2 separate regions of the Homo sapiens genome follow, and region 2 is linked to region 1. Evidence: promoter capture Hi-C in 16 types of primary human blood cells and fetal thymus (Javierre and others, 2016). All regions are on one chromosome and are shown on one strand. Each heading gives the region's core, a stretch centred on a gene start or on the middle of the fragment in contact. The rest is flanking DNA. Distances are from core to core; before and after follow the strand shown.

The links. Contacts are between HindIII fragments. The CHiCAGO score rates a contact against its expected background, and 5 or more counts as called.
Region 2: a fragment that was not itself captured here is called in contact with the fragment with the promoter of POU3F2 in region 1 in 4 of 17 cell types (total CD4 T cells, naive CD8 T cells, total B cells and 1 more); the score reaches 10.1 in total CD4 T cells.

The regions. Positions count from the first base shown.
Region 1 is chr6:98,832,885-98,836,343 of GRCh38, forward strand. POU3F2 (POU class 3 homeobox 2) reads left to right here and starts at 1,690. Exons shown (of 1, transcript NM_005604.4): 1 at 1,690-3,459. The coding sequence starts at 1,990. The coding sequence ends at 3,321. RefSeq lists a silencer at 1,631-1,700 and enhancers at 2,339-2,408, 2,407-3,003, 3,004-3,459. The HindIII fragment of the contact is 14,703 bases long and covers 1-3,459 here.
Region 2 is chr6:97,522,603-97,526,004 of GRCh38, forward strand. The region is part of intron 1 of LOC101927314 (a long non-coding RNA gene); the gene reads left to right. Among named protein-coding and RNA genes, the nearest start is that of MMS22L, 240 kb to the left of the region's middle. RefSeq lists an enhancer at 2,187-2,792. The HindIII fragment of the contact is 3,189 bases long and covers 1-3,102 here.

The DNA.
Region 1 (3,459 bases), core at 440-2,939:
TCAGCCACTCTCCAAAGAGCATGACTCCTTGTTAGTCATGATGAATTTTCTGGCCCGCTCCAGTCTGCTGTCTGGATTCAGATGCTCAGAGGCCCCAAAATGCTCCCTCTGAGCGTTGATTTGGCTGCCCTCTCAAGCCTACGACCGCCGGCAAAACCAGCGATAGAGCGAGGGGTGAGAGGTGGGGACGCGATCCAGGTTCCCTGGGGTCTGTCATTCCCTTCCCGGCAGTAACTGTTGATTCGCTTTACAGCGCCCATGTACACACCCGGCCCTGCGTGGCGGTCACGCCGCTCCAGCCTGGGTCCGCGCCCAAGTTCTAGCTACCGGGCTTGCAGGCTCGGAAACTCGCAGGCGGCACCTGCTCTGGGCGGCTAAAGAACTGATGGCGCGACGCGCCCGCGCTCCGTAGAGCGGCGCTGCGGGTGCATGGTCCCATAGTCTTGCTCTGGAGTTCACTGCTGAAAGCTGAGCTGGGAGCTTGGCCAGGGAGCGCCAAAGACATAGACTAACCCCACCCGCTAGCGCCCACCGAAGTTACTGATTAGGAAGGTTCCCCTGGCATCAGCCCATTTGCTTCACACACTCTTCCTCCTTCCCAAGGGGCTAACGGAAAAGTTGCACCTACCAGCGGTAGGAGCACGGGGAATCGCGCACGCAGGCCCTCCGCGCGGCTTCCCGGAGCGGCCTTTGGCGACTGCGCCGCCCCTACAAGGCCGCACACCCCTCGCCAGCACTCCGGCAGCCTCGCACAAGACGGAGCCCACGCAGGCTTCTAGTTTTCTAAACCAAAAACTGCACGCGCCGGCGTGTGAATCTGACGGAGAGACTTTTAGAGTTTTGTTTGGTTTTCAGTTCAGACCGCTACGCTGTCAGAGCAAGCAACTCCGAGCCTTGATGGGAATGACTTACAAGCCGCGGTGCGGGCTGAGCCTGCCTCTCTCGGGGTTCTTTCCCCAAGGGAGTGGGAGACAATTGGGCCTGGAACCTAAAAGGAAGAGAGCCTGTGCTAGCCGCGGGGTAGAGGGGAAGGAGAAGAGCTTTGGGCCGAAGTGTCCGCACACCCTGGAGCAAGAGACACTTGTGCACTGAAATTCTAACCGTGGGATGCAAGGAGAGTTGAACAGGGGAACAGGTCTGGCTCTTGGCTCTAGGTTTAAGAGATACACACTGTGTGTGTGTCCCTAGGTGAATAAAAATCCGACTCCCGCTGGCTCGGTGCGACCCAGCTTTTCCCTTACCCCCTCCGTTTCCCCATCTTAAAGCCCTATTGGGAAACGAAAGTGGACACCACTGCCTCCCGCCCCCCACCCCAATCCAAGTCTTCCAAGTGTCTGTGGCCGATAAGAGCACCGGGACCGCCCCCCTGCCGGTCTTCTCTGCCTGGGAGACAGATGGGGGGCGGGGCCCATCCGAGAGAGGGCGGAGGAGGCCCCGGGTGAGGAAGAAGCGGGGGGGTGAGAACTGAGAGAATCTGAATCGGGAGGCGAAGGGGACGGGGAGGAGGGCTAGGAGGACTCCGAGCCCGGGGGAGGGGGAGGGAGTAGCTCTGCGCCAATCAGTGGCGCCGGCCTGGGAGGTTGCTAGCGGTATCCACGTAAATCAAAGGGCGCGGAGCCAATGGGAGGGGGCGGAGGGGGCGGGGCCCAGGCGCGTGCCGCTGCGAGCCGGCGCTGCCAAGAGAGCGGGAGAGAGCTGGAGAGAGCAGGGAGAGGGGGGAGCGCCGAGCTAGTCAGAGAGTGAGCGAGAGCGAGAAGGAGGGAGAGGAGGAGAAAGAGAGCGAGGGCGGGCGGGAGGCGGCGGCGGCGGCAGCAGCAGCAGTAATAGCAGGAGCAGCAACAGAAGGCGTCGGAGCGGGCGTCGGAGCTGCCCGCTGTGGGAGAGAGAGGAGACAGAAAGAGCGAGCGAGGAGAGGGAGCCCGAGGCGAAAAAGTAACTGTCAAATGCGCGGCTCCTTTAACCGGAGCGCTCAGTCCGGCTCCGAGAGTCATGGCGACCGCAGCGTCTAACCACTACAGCCTGCTCACCTCCAGCGCCTCCATCGTGCACGCCGAGCCGCCCGGCGGCATGCAGCAGGGCGCGGGGGGCTACCGCGAAGCGCAGAGCCTGGTGCAGGGCGACTACGGCGCTCTGCAGAGCAACGGACACCCGCTCAGCCACGCTCACCAGTGGATCACCGCGCTGTCCCACGGCGGCGGCGGCGGGGGCGGTGGCGGCGGCGGGGGGGGCGGGGGCGGCGGCGGGGGCGGCGGCGACGGCTCCCCGTGGTCCACCAGCCCCCTGGGCCAGCCGGACATCAAGCCCTCGGTGGTGGTGCAGCAGGGCGGCCGCGGAGACGAGCTGCACGGGCCAGGCGCCCTGCAGCAGCAGCATCAGCAGCAGCAACAGCAACAGCAGCAGCAACAGCAGCAACAGCAGCAGCAGCAGCAGCAACAGCGGCCGCCGCATCTGGTGCACCACGCCGCTAACCACCACCCGGGACCCGGGGCATGGCGGAGCGCGGCGGCTGCAGCGCACCTCCCACCCTCCATGGGAGCGTCCAACGGCGGCTTGCTCTACTCGCAGCCCAGCTTCACGGTGAACGGCATGCTGGGCGCCGGCGGGCAGCCGGCCGGTCTGCACCACCACGGCCTGCGGGACGCGCACGACGAGCCACACCATGCCGACCACCACCCGCACCCGCACTCGCACCCACACCAGCAGCCGCCGCCCCCGCCGCCCCCGCAGGGTCCGCCTGGCCACCCAGGCGCGCACCACGACCCGCACTCGGACGAGGACACGCCGACCTCGGACGACCTGGAGCAGTTCGCCAAGCAGTTCAAGCAGCGGCGGATCAAACTGGGATTTACCCAAGCGGACGTGGGGCTGGCTCTGGGCACCCTGTATGGCAACGTGTTCTCGCAGACCACCATCTGCAGGTTTGAGGCCCTGCAGCTGAGCTTCAAGAACATGTGCAAGCTGAAGCCTTTGTTGAACAAGTGGTTGGAGGAGGCGGACTCGTCCTCGGGCAGCCCCACGAGCATAGACAAGATCGCAGCGCAAGGGCGCAAGCGGAAAAAGCGGACCTCCATCGAGGTGAGCGTCAAGGGGGCTCTGGAGAGCCATTTCCTCAAATGCCCCAAGCCCTCGGCCCAGGAGATCACCTCCCTCGCGGACAGCTTACAGCTGGAGAAGGAGGTGGTGAGAGTTTGGTTTTGTAACAGGAGACAGAAAGAGAAAAGGATGACCCCTCCCGGAGGGACTCTGCCGGGCGCCGAGGATGTGTACGGGGGGAGTAGGGACACTCCACCACACCACGGGGTGCAGACGCCCGTCCAGTGAACTCGAGCTGGGGGAGGGGCAGAGCGCGGGGCTCCCCCTCCCCTTCGGTCCTTGGCCCTTTCCCGGCCCTCTTGTTCCCTCTCTAACTTCTGATTGTTCTTTTATTTTTAATTATTATTTCCCCGTCCCTTAAAAAGA
Region 2 (3,402 bases), core at 258-2,757, 1.3 Mb before region 1:
TGTAATAACAGAAAGCAGATCATTGGTTGCCAAGGGTCAGGGTGGGAGGAGTGAATTGATGACAAAGAGACACATGAGACAAAACTTCAGGGTGCAGGGAATGTTCTGGTTCATGATTCTCGTGATGTTTACATGTGTGTATACATTTTTTCAAAACTCATCAAAGTGTCTGTGTAACATGGAGGAGTTTTCTTGTGTATAAATCACATTAAAAGAAAAACGTTAAAAAATAAAAAATACCTTTTAAGGAGATAAATTATAAGAGCAAATTTTTAATGTTTATTAATCTTCCCTGGTTTAAAATTTGATGTAATTTTAAAAATGCCACTTTTATTAATTGTTCCCACTTTTTATTTTCTGTGAAACCTTACTAATGCCAATGACAGTTTTATCAACCTCTGTACTTTTAAGTAGAGAAGAAATATGTATATATGTATACGTGTGTGTGTGTGTGTTTGTGTAGTGTAGATTTGTGTATTTTTTTGAATTATGCTATTCAATTTTTGAAGCAGGAAAATTTAGATGCAAAATGCTTAGTTGTGTTCAAAGAAAGAAAGTGGAGACAGAAGGAATTACGGATGAATAGTATAAACAGTATAAATAAAATAAGGAACCTACGAAGTGGCATATTATTTTAATAACCTATAATAATAAAAAATAAACATTTTCTCAAAAATTGCTGAAAAATTATTAATTAAATTAGGAACCAGAATATTTTGAAGTTCATAAACAATTCTAATTTGTTTAAAAATGCAAGTGATATCAATGACAGTCTTTTTTGACTAACTGGCTTGTTGAAAAGTTAATCAGATATTAAAAGCTGGGTCAAGATTTTATTTTTCTAGACATAGGACTGAGACTGATAATCATGCCAGCCATGAAGTTATTTGGCCAGTGGACTTCTAACTTTGTAGTTAGACGGATGGTGGCTGCTTTATGACCAGGTCAGTTAGTAGAACAAAAATTTACTGGGTTGTGGTACTTTAGTTATGTAGGTAGGGAAACTGCAGTGGGTTCAGCCACTTTATTTGATTCTTCTTGTGAAGTCAGAAGTTGACTGGCCTTGTGTGGAAAAATCAATAAAGCATTTATAAACCTTCATGAAAGAAAAGATTTTTGAAAGGGGGAATATGTTGGTTACATGGAGAGATGACCCTGTGTGAAGGTGGGAAGGGTTAGAGTAAGCGGATTAAGCAGTAGTGACTACAGGGAACACACGCCAGTATTTTTGATTTATGTTAGCGTTCATGTAGTGAGCACTATCTGGAGAATAGCAGTGCTTTTCAAACCCTATTGATGAAGCTCTGCACACACATGGCAGCCTTGGGAAGTTGTTGGAATGTACTGTGCTGAAGGATGGTGCTTGTGTGTAGCTGATGATCCTTTTTTTCTTACGGGATGCCTGATTTAGTCTATATAGTTTGAATGGATGATATTTGGCTCAGCCTTCTTGCTTACATATAAGGTGATCAGTTGCTTTTTCTCTTTAACATTCCTACACAGCCAAATTTATGGTTGTCTAAATTTTAGATTTGAAAGTGCAGTCCCCTTTCTCTCTTGCTCATTGCTTTCACTTCTGCATGGTTATTTTGTGTGGGTCTAGTTGTGATGGACATGTTAGATTACCAAATATATGATACGGCTCATTTATTTTACCTTTGGTTAAAATTTGTTTAATTTTTTAACTGGTCAGCATTTATACCACACTTTTAGTACCCCAAAATTTAAGGACATCAGCTTCAGTGAAAAAAGTTATTATTGGATTTAGAAACATGATACAGTATAAAGGAAGATAGATATACAGAATTTTATGACTGCATGTCTCTCTATTGATGAATGTTTAGCATAATAGAAATTGAGTACATTTTCTTAAAGTACAAACACGTTGGTATGAGACATTGCACAAGTGGATGGGCTTTTAGGCTAAATCTGCCTGTATGCTCCTCAAATCTTTCTGGTTGTATCTTATATAATTTTCACTGCCAAAGCTCCTTTTTAATTTGTAAATGTGAAATGGTTGGATCAAAGTCTTATAAGATTCAAGGATTCTAATCCAATTTGATGTAGAGCAAAACACAATTTAAAATCTAAATAATTCCCAAACTCATGAAGCTGCTTTCTGATCTACTTTCTTTTCCAATCATCACAAAGCAAGACTCCTTCTGTAATTCTCTCTTCCCAACATAGGCATCTTTTCCATGCATCTCTTTGGCAACCTTAAAAAAATTACCCTTGCTCTGGTTCATTTGATTTAGTGGTCTGGAAATTTGAAAATGAGGTTGTCTGTTAAAGGTGACCCCCTGCAGTGGCTTTGGCAGCATGAGGTATTCCGGAGCTGGAACAACAATGGCAGGAAGCCTCTTGAAAGAGCAGCAGTGCTGACATGATTGGGCAGAGCAGCAAAGGCTGATTTCCTCACACCGAAGCTCTCCTGCCCCAGGCGTCTTCCTCTGACTGTCACCCTATTAATGCACAGCAATTGCTAGGCAGTCTCCAAGTCATCACCTTCTGAAAAACAACAGATGGGTTAACTGGCTTGAGGTCACTCAATGAGTCAGGAACAGAGCTGGGGGTTAAGTCCCCGGTCTCCTCATACCCATCCTGGTACATAACCAAATATATCCACTGTAGCTCCATCAGCATTTCTAATGCTTGGGGAACAAGCTCACTAAAACAGCTCTAAATTGATTAAATCAGGTTTATACTCAGTTTCTTTTTCTTTCTTTCTTTCATTAAAAAAAAATCCTGGATTGATCATACACTAGTTACTGTACAAATCTTCAAGGAATGCCTCCTAATTATACTTCTACTTCTCTATGTTGCCTCCTGATATCAAATGATAATCTTCCCACATCTCATCACATTTTTTGTTAAAAATGTAAAATCTGAAATTAAAAGTTACAAGATGTACCCTTGGTTTTAGAAGAGGAGAATTTTTTTTTTAGATGACTGTTCTGATCCCATATGTGAGTTGCCACATTTAAATAGCAGCTACTCTTTGATTATATGTGGGGGGAACGGAAATCACATTTAATTGATATCTACACACAAGAAAGAAAAGTGACTTTAGTTTACAACTTCAAACTACTGAATTTACAACCAAGCTTTTATCTAAAGGCATTTGAAAGATAGCAAAATTAGCCACTAAGTTTAAGTACTTCCCTCCTCAGACTAACTGCCAAAATGAATCAAACGCATGGGATGGTGGGTGGGGAGGAGAACCTAGTAAAAAACAAACAAAAAAACCAACCAACCAACCAAAGAATAAAGCTGAAGTAAGGGTTTAATTAATTTTATAATCAATTTGGAAAGGTGAATAATGGACTTGTGAATGAAAGCTTCTCTCAAATAAGTGATTTGTAATTTTTAGAAAAATTGTTTGTTTTTAGACTAGGACTGTGA